2 separate regions of the Homo sapiens genome follow, and region 1 is linked to region 2. The links are contacts of gene promoters, found by promoter capture Hi-C in blood cells and fetal thymus (Javierre and others, 2016). All regions are on one chromosome and are shown on one strand. Each heading gives the region's core, a stretch centred on a gene start or on the middle of the fragment in contact. The rest is flanking DNA. Distances are from core to core; before and after follow the strand shown.

Evidence for each region. The method cuts DNA at HindIII sites, captures the fragments that hold promoters and counts their contacts. A CHiCAGO score of 5 or more calls a contact.
Region 1: a contact is called between a fragment that was not itself captured here and the fragment with the promoter of RASGRP1 in region 2, in 8 of 17 cell types (total CD4 T cells, total CD8 T cells, naive CD8 T cells and 5 more). The highest score is 13.8, in total CD4 T cells.

Annotation. Positions count from the first base shown.
Region 1 is chr15:39,756,539-39,761,038 of GRCh38, reverse strand. All of the region lies in intron 5 of FSIP1 (fibrous sheath interacting protein 1), which reads left to right. Among named protein-coding and RNA genes, the nearest start is that of FSIP1, 24 kb to the left of the region's middle. The HindIII fragment of the contact is 1,112 bases long and covers 1,628-2,739 here.
Region 2 is chr15:38,561,869-38,566,658 of GRCh38, reverse strand. RASGRP1 (RAS guanyl releasing protein 1) reads left to right here and starts at 1,845. Exons shown (of 17, transcript NM_005739.4): 1 at 1,845-2,065. The coding sequence starts at 2,031. RefSeq lists enhancers at 1,239-1,428, 1,270-1,781, 4,164-4,263, 4,324-4,453 and silencers at 1,639-1,688, 1,849-2,088, 2,119-2,338, 2,349-2,548. The HindIII fragment of the contact is 3,108 bases long and covers 1-2,865 here.

The DNA of each region.
Region 1 (4,500 bases), core at 934-3,433, 1.2 Mb before region 2:
AGGAGTGAGATGATAGTTCATTGTGGTTAATTTGTATTTCCTGAATGATTAGTGAGGTTGAACATTTTCTGCATATTTGTTGTATGCCATTAAGTTTTATTTTTTACTTTTTATTTTGAAATAATTTTAAATTTATGGAAAACTTGCATAAGTAGTACAGAATTCCATATACCCTTCCCCCCTGCTTCTCCTAATCTTACATAACCATAGTGATCAAAACTCAGAAATCAACATTGGTATAATACCATTAATTAAAGTATAGACTTTCTTAAAAATTTACCAGTTTTCCCACTAATGTCCTTTTTATTTACTAGTATCCAATCCAAGATCCCATGTTACATTTCGTTGTCATGTCTCCTTAATCTCCTCCAATCTGTGATAGTTCCTCAGTCTTTCCTTGTCTGTCGTGATGTTGACCCTTTGGGAGAGTATTGGTCAGCTATTTTGTAAAATGTCCTTCAGTTTTGGTTTATGTGATGTTTTCTCATGATTAGATGAAAGTTATGAATTTTGGCAAGCATACTCTGGAAGTTATGTGCCCTTCTCAGTCAATCACACTTGGTATACCTAATGCTGTTATATATTATTATTGGTAATGTTTCACCTTGATCACTTTGTTAAGATGGTGTCTGCTGGTTTTCTGCACTGTAAAATTACTATTTTTTTCTTTTACAATTAATACATATCTTGGGGGAGATGCTTTAAGACTATGCAAATATCCTGTTTCTTCTCCAGCTTTCACCTACTAATTTCAGCATCAATCAGTAGATCTTGCCTGCAATAATTTTTACCATATGCCACTAGATTTGGGTGATTTTGTAATCCAACAATAGATAACTGGAACAATGTGCATCAGCATTATTTTTAATGATTATATATTAATTCATTAGATGGATGTGCCATCATTTGTTTAACTAATACCCTTCTATTGAACATTTAGATTATTCCCTTAGTTTTTCAATTTTTTAAATTACACATGTTGCAGTGACATCCTTAGTCAATTATTGCAATGATTACCTTCTGTGGTTGGCTGAAAAAAATCCACCCCAATCCCCCAAGAGATATCTATGTCAAATCCCTAGAGCCTGTGAATGTTACCTTATTTGGAAAAAGGGTCTTTGCAGATGTGATTAAGTCCTGGAATATTGAGATGGGCCCTAAATTCCATCATAGGTAGCCTTATCAGAAAGAGATGGAGGGAGAAGAGGTAGATAAGGAAGAGGAAAAGGTGCTGCAAAGACGGAGGCAGAGATTGGAGTGATGCAGCCTCAAGCCTGCTGGCAACCATCAGAAGCTGGAAGAGGGAGGAACAGAAATTCCTCTAGAACCTCTGGAGGGAACGTGGCCCTGCTGACATCTTGATTCTGGATTTCTGGCCTCCAGAACTGTGAGAGAATAACTTCTGTTGTTTGAAGCCACCAAGTTTGTGGTAATTTGTTAGGGCCGCTATAGAAAATGGGTATACTTTCAAATACATTCCTAGAAGAGAAATACTTAGTCCAGGGTTGGACTTTCACAAGATTTTTATTCACATTGACTTATTGAAATCAATTTAGACTCTTACCCACATTGTATCTGAATATTATTTTTCTATGCCAACGATGGATTTTGTAGTTATTTTTAAGCTTTGTTTATTTAAAGTGGAATCACAATAATTTGTATTTCTCTGATTATCAGGGAGGTTATAGATTTATTCTTTGGTTTAGCTAAGTTGTGAGTTACCTACTCATGTCTTAGTCTCTTTTATAAAGTGAGGTATTCTTTATTGATTTGAAAGACTTTTTTAATATTAAGGATATTAATTATTTGTCACAAACACCATAAGCATTTTTCTAACTTTTTTTTTAATTTTGTGACATTTCTTGCTCTAGTTAGTCATTTCTTTTATGTTATCATTCATTGGTACTCTGCTTTAAAAGGCCTTTTATGTCTCAAGATTGTATAAAAAATATATATTTTCCTTTCATCAGTTATAATTTAATGAAAAAATTTAAATATTAACCCACTTGAGATTTATTTTGGTATTAGATATGAGTTAGAGAGTTGATTTTGTTTTTTTCCCCCAATTTGCTAACCAGCTATTCCAAGACCCTTTATTGGATAATCTGTCATTTCCCCACTTATTTGAAATGCTAGCTTTATCGTGTAGGAACTGGGTTTATTTTCAGATTTTCTATTTTATTCCATTAAAATTTCTGTCTGTGCTGATGTTAATACCACTCTATTTTGATTATTGTGTCTTTGTAATATATTTTATTGGGGCAGTATTTTGGAATAACATGGTTTTCTCAAACCTATTTTTTTTCTGAGTTTAGCAATGACTACATTATTTTTTAAAAAAGAGATTGTAAAAGCACCTCTAAAGCTATAGCTTATGAACTGCTTTTTTATTTATTTAAATGTCTAAAGACCAGTATATGAACGTAGTCTGCTTGGAAAAGTACAACTTACTAATATATTTCATTCAATGTTTATCAGTAATTCTATACCTTCATAGAAATGAGACTATACCCCTTATTCCCCCCCCTCAAAAAAATCCATGGACAGTGTCAGGAATGAGATTCTGGATATTATAGTATCTCAATGTCTATAGTTTGGAAACCAGGAGTCAAATACTGATTTTTCTAGTGGGTAGGGCTTTTCTGAAAGACCAAACCTGCTTGTGGTTGACTCTGGAGCAAGCAATGTAAGACAGGCCACTCTGTAAGTGGATCTATGGTGGCCTTTTAACATTAAGCTTTTCGGTCACAGAGTTCACTACCCAGTGAACTTTTGGTCCTGGAAGGCAAGACATTTGTTTTCAGTTGCCCTTTTTTCAAAACCAAATCAAAACTGTCAAATATGTTTAATTTTTAAAGCTCCTGGCCCGTATATTTGACTTAAATCTATGCTCACATTGTATTTCTGGAGTTATGTGACTGCTGTAGGCCCTGTAGACACTTCCCATAATGTTAGATTAGTCCTGATGTTCTAACATGGAAATTAAGTGGACTTAATGATATGAAAGCTGGAGCTGCAAGGGGCTTGAAAGCTATGTTAAGAGAGAATCATTGTTTTAAACATGATGACATTATTAAAGCTTCAATTTTTAGATTCAGACTTCTTAGTTATTATGTATTGGCAGTGTGTGCAAAGCAGGTAAGATGCAAAAGTAGGGTCAACGTAAAAGGAAAAGGGAATACAAGATACTGTTAGGTGAACCAGATGTCTGTTGCACTTCACTCTTGCTACTGACTGTCTTAATTAGTTCACACTTGACCAGTTCACCAAAATGAAGAGGTAACATTATTGTATTACTGGCTTCTTCAGATTTAATTAGAATCTTTTTTTGATGATTGTTCTTTTACAGAAAAGCCAAATTCCTTAATGAAATTTCCTGCTTGCTGTTTACTTCATAGACATATGTTTTGGAGTCATTTATTGCCACACATATCTGTTTTTTTTAAATTCTTAAAAACAAAAAAGTAGTTAGCATTTACTTTAGGCTGCATTATTAACCTAATTATATTAATTTGTTTTTTGGACTACATAACTATTACCTTATTCTAAAAGAGGAAACTTTTGGAATAATCAGCTTAAACTTGGTATTATTAGCAGAATATTTTCACTGCAAGTATGAAAGAAATAATTAGAAACACAACAGTCCAGTTTGACCTCATGCCACGGATTTTTTGAAAGTCTCATATTCCTGGTATTTCAACATAAGCACTATCATAAGGTGGTACGAAGCTACTTTCATCTGTTCTACAATGAAATGAATTTCCCATTACTCATTAGATCTCAGCTACTGTTTTAATTAGAAATGTATAAAAATTTAAAAATTATTTTAATCAATCATATATAGCCATACATTTCTAAATAAGATATTTTTATAAGTATTATTAGGAAAACAGGAAAATTTTGCCTTTTTTTCCTGTATAATTTTTTGTTGCCAGCACAGTTTCAGGCACTTGTAAATTGTCCAGTAGGTGGCAGCATCTAGTTACAATAAGTACTTTAAAAAGCCTTAAAGCATTTAAAAAAATTTTAAAGCTCCTGGCATACATTTTTGGCTTAAACCTATAGAGTTCACATTGTATTTCTGGAGTCATGTGACTGCTCTACACCCTGCAGACACTTCTTGTAATGTTAGATTAGTCCTGATGTTCTAACATGGAAATTCAGTGGACTTAATGATGTGAAAGCTGGAGCTGCAAGGGACTTGAAAGCTATATTCAGAGAGAATCATTTTAAGCATGATCACGTTATTAAAGCCAGACCTATTTCAGCATACCTATCAATATACCCAAACCTACTTTCTTTCTTTTCATTTTTTGTCTTTAAACAAAGGGAGAAATTCTTAGGATGGATATTTTTCTTTTCTAGTCAGTTTTTCTTATCCTCTTATTTAAGAGTTAGCTTCAGGTTGGGTGGGTGGTTCATGCATGTAATCCCAGCGCTTTGGGAAGTGGAGTCAGGAGGATTGCCTGAAGCCAGGAGTTCGAGACCAACCTGGGCTAC
Region 2 (4,790 bases), core at 596-3,095:
ACAGGGACACAGAATATTATGTGGCAATTGAAAGTGTAAATATTATAGATTTAAGTAGGGTAAAGAGCTCATTCTGTAGTAGAGGGGTCAGTGAAAAGTAATTGTTCACCTGGTAATAAGAGAAGATCTCTGTGAACAAAGTCTAAGACTGCAAACTTAGGACTGTTGGGAGATAGTCAGATAGATTCATATATAGATACAAATCTTTACCATCCTCAGACATCCGCCAACTTGGTTGTTTAGGTTGTAGGGCTTACATGAGGAAGGGTGTATAATAGATAACTCTAAAAATGTTTGAGCCTTAGACCCAGTGAGTGAGAAAGAGTGTCATCATTTAATATTCTCCTGACATTCACCTGCCCCTTCTGCATCTGTGGCTGTGACTGAGGACTTGGTTCTTTATATCACCCAGTGTTCATGAGGATTCTCTGGAGAAATTTCTTGCTGGTCTCAGTATCAAGAAAGGGGGATCTTCTCTTGAGCAATTTTGTTTTTGGTCTTGCATGTGATAGGAATTGAACTTTAGACAAGGCCTCTCTTTAAACTTGACTGCTAGAAATGCAGGAGACAAATTTTGGTCCCACCTGTAGCAAGGGTATTTGACTCTATGAGATGCATTTATTTCAAATGATGTTCATTTTTGGCTCCATCTTGTGTGCCTCATTTTTCATTTCACACACTTCTTTTTGTAGGTTATGTGCTCTTGTAAGCTATCTCGAATTCTGTTTTAAGGACAAGGTAGCATATAAATATAAGGAAATATATAAATGAAACAGAGGAAGGCTTTAAAGTCCAGAACACTATGGCCAGGAAGACAACTATGACTGTGGCTAGAGTTATGGTCTGTGGCCGTGATAATGAGTGTGTTATTAGGGCAGTCCAGCAGTGATTACAGGGAGTCAGACAGACCTCAGTCCAAGTCAGAGGTCTCTCTGCTGTTTATTAGTTGTATGATCTAAGGCATAGCATTCTCTAAACCTTCATTTTCTCATCTTTACAACAGTGATCTCTTTGTATCAGGGAGAGTGGATTAAATGAGGTAATGTATAGAAAGCACTTAGCACAACCGCACTCAATCATTAGCTATTGAGATTATCAGCACTATCACCTGGACAAGCAGCGGATGGGCCGCCCCTCTTGGCCAGGTCTTCTGTGCGCACTGACGTTGTATGAAAGTTGTCCCCACATCTCCTACACCCACCGACGCCAGGCGGCCGCGTCTGGGCCAGATATGGATCACGCCTGTGGAGCGCACCTCCACACAGGCAGCCCTCGTCCAAGGTGCAGGGCGCAGGGCACAGGGCACATGTCTACGGCCCAGTCCTGCAGACGGCTACCTAGAGACCCCAGGGCACAGGTTAAGGCAACTTCACAACTGTCTTTCCGTTCCTTTCCCCTGCCGGACTCCGCGCTCTGATATATACAGGAGAGGCCCTGGAGGGGAGAAGGCGTCCTCACTGCAGTGCTCCGAGCAGCGGCCGCAGGAAGAGGCGTGGAAGCTGCGGGTCGGCTGCGGGAAAGGGGGTCCCATGGGAGCCGCTAGGCGCAGCCCGTTTCCCGAGCTGAGGTGGAGGTCGACGGGCACAGGTGCCCTGCAAGGCGCGGGCGTGGTAGCCGGGAGCCCGCTCCTCTCCAACTCCCCTGAGACTTAACCCTTTGGCCAAGAGAGGTCGAAGGCGGGCAGGGGTGAGAGAACCGCGCGAGGCGCAGGCCGGGGCACCCGCGGAAAGGGGGCAGGTTTCGGGGAAGAGCGGCGGGGCGCCGCACGTTTCCTGCAGCCGCCAGCATCAGCGTGTCAGGTGGTTGCCAGGCGGGTGTGAGCGCGCGCGCGAGGCAGAGGGGGCGCGCTCGCACAAAGTTTGTGCCTGCGGTGCACCTCGGTCGGGCTCGCCGGGCTCGAGGGCTGGCGGGCGCCGGGGCTACGAGGCCCGGGGGGGAGAGAGCCGGCAGGCGGCGGCGGTGGTGGCGGGGGCGATGCGCCGCGCCCGGCCGCGCTAGGTGAGCCGGCACCGGGAGCGCGGGCCGCGGCCATGGGCACCCTGGGCAAGGCGAGAGAGGCTCCGCGGTGAGTAGAGGCGGCCGTGGCCCTCGGGAGCGCCTGTGTCCTTTCTTGGGAAAGAGGCCCCTGCCCGTCGCCCCAACACCCCGAGGGAAGTTGAGGGCGGAGGGGGGCCGGGGTCGGCCGGAGTCCCGGGACACCAGCGCGACGGGCGGACGTGTCCAGAACGCCCGGCGCGCTGCGCCCGGGGTTTCGGGGAGGGAGCTGGGGCTGAGGGGTGGTAGAGGGGCGGCCGCGAGGCCAGAGCTCGTCCGGTGAGATCTGCTAGGGCCGAAGCTCTTCGCGGAGCCGGCGCCCGCCCGCCGACTTCCTCCCCCACATCTCCACGCCCGGCATCGGGACTCCCACTCGCGGACTTTCCGCGCTGCCCGCACCTGCTGGGGCGCTGGGCTCCGGCTGCGCCACCTGGTGGCCCCTCCCGGCCCTGCCCAGAACGGCCGAGGAGCTTGCAGGGAGCCCGCAGAGGTGGCACCCCTCGGTTGCCCCTGCCCCACGGAAGTTTCCAGATCCGTGGGTCAGGGAAACATATCGCCTTCCGTATGGGAAGCTGCACTCCTCTCCCCCTCACTATGATTCTATAGAGGGTCTTGGATAACAGAAGTTGAAGAAAGAGGGACAGTGAGTGAAAGGGCTCTTGGCCAGGCAGCTTTGAGTTTGTAGCCAAAGGACCAGAACTAGGCAACTGCATGAACAAAGGCCTGGCCTCGGCGTAGGGGCTGGACAAGTTGTGCACTTCACAACTCCATTCACATCGACACTGATGGGACTGTGCCTTGCACCACCATACCCAGTAGCGGCAGGAAGCTTGCGATGCTGGACTTCCCGTGCTTATAATCCCAGGAACGAAGGATTCTTGGCCCTGTATGCACGCCCTGCCTCTCCCCATCCAGGTATCCCCTGAGGGTCCACCACTGTACTTTGCACTAGATTCAGAAGGAGGAGTTCAGTACATTAAATTGAGTATTGTAAGGGGAAGAGGACGGGACTGGAAGGAATCCATACTAGAAGTCAAGAGAGTCACCTTCCACTGCAAAGAAAGTTGTGGAAGTTCCAGTTCCCTTGCTCCATTTCATCTCTTACTTTTCTAGGCGGATTTCATAAAAAGCTCAGCCTGAAACTGACCTCCACTGAGATACCTATGCCTGGAGAGGATTTCACCTAAACCAGTTTAGAGTTTTGACGGTCTCCTTCAGCAAACCTATGGGGCTTTGGTTACTTTTAGGCTTGGAAAACACCTTCAAGTTAATTTGTTTCTCTCGGGGTTTTGGTTTTTTCATTTACAGGAAAACATTTGGCTACTGTATTTTTTTAAAAAATATGCCTTTACAGACTCAGAGGCCATTCATTCTATGGATTGTTAAAACACCTTCGACCTGCCTATAATAGAGCATTTTATAAATCCTTGTCTACTCCCATTTCACCAGAAAAGGCAGAACGATTTGAGGATTTTTCACAAGGCAACCAGTTAAGAGACTGTACAGCAAGAAAGCCAGGTTTCCTAGTCTATGGTGCAGATAATCCCCATCTTCTTAGAACTCTGAGGCTGCACTTTGGCTTTTAGTACTTTCTCTTCTCCCTGTTCTCTCATGGCCTAGTCCTCTGAGTCTCTCTGGGCTCCATACTTCCCAGATTGCTTTTGTCACCCTTTCTTCCCTTTTACTACCCTATACTTTACCCTGATCCCTTCTAGTTCTGGTAAAAGCATCAACCTTCAAGAATCCACTTATGAAACAAAGCGGTTTCTCTTACTGGTGACACTAGGAAACTTTACCAGAATTAGAAAACAGGGCAGGATTAGGAGTCTTGAATGGTCAGTGTCACCAACCAAGAAAGAAAATGGAATTTTCCTTGGATCTGTAGCCACCTCCCCTCCACCCCTAGCAGGAAGAGCTCTGTCAGTAGATAGAGCCTCTAGTTGCAGTTGCCTCTTCTCCAAGGTCTAGGGAGAAGTATTGTGGAAGGCCTGAGAGAAGGAGACTTCTACAATGAATGACTTTATTTTTTTAAAACCTTTCCCCTACTCTGCCTTTGGTGGAGGTCTTAATGGTGACAAAGGCAGCAGCTGGGGCAGAAAGCTGAGTAATCCCAGCAGTGGCTATGTAGCCCCAGGTGTAGAGAGTTGTTAGTGCTTCCAGGAAGGGAAGGGCGCCCACCTGGGGCGCACTGCATGGGCCACAAGGGGCTGGCTTCTAGCCTGTCTCTGCAGTGGTGGCCAGGCACGTTGCTCTTCTGATTCTGGACCTCCACACTGTAGAAGGGGGCTTTGGAAAATGACCATAAAGAGTCTGTCCAGCTCTAGGGACCTGAGGACAGTTCTGAGGGCCTGCAAGAGGAATATGGGCTGAGATTCAGCCTTTACATTACCAGTTATGCTTTTGAAGGATTTTGCTTTCATTTTAAATTGAATTGACCTTTTCAGCCTCTCTGTGATTGTCTACTACTAATCCTGATGTTGTGAAATGTGCAGAGTTCCAGGCACAGTCAATATTTATTAAATGAATAAAGCCAGAGAGGTGCTGGGTACAAATCTCAGGTTGATTATATATGAGTTTTATAACCTTGGCTATGTCATTTACCCTTTTTTAGATTCAGTTTCAGTGTCATGAGATGGGGATAACATCCTTCTGGGCTGTAAGCCTCAAGACAGGGTCAGTCCCCAGCACGGTACCTGCCATAGCATAGGTACTCAATTCATGTCACCATTATTATTTTGCTTTTAGAGACTGATCCA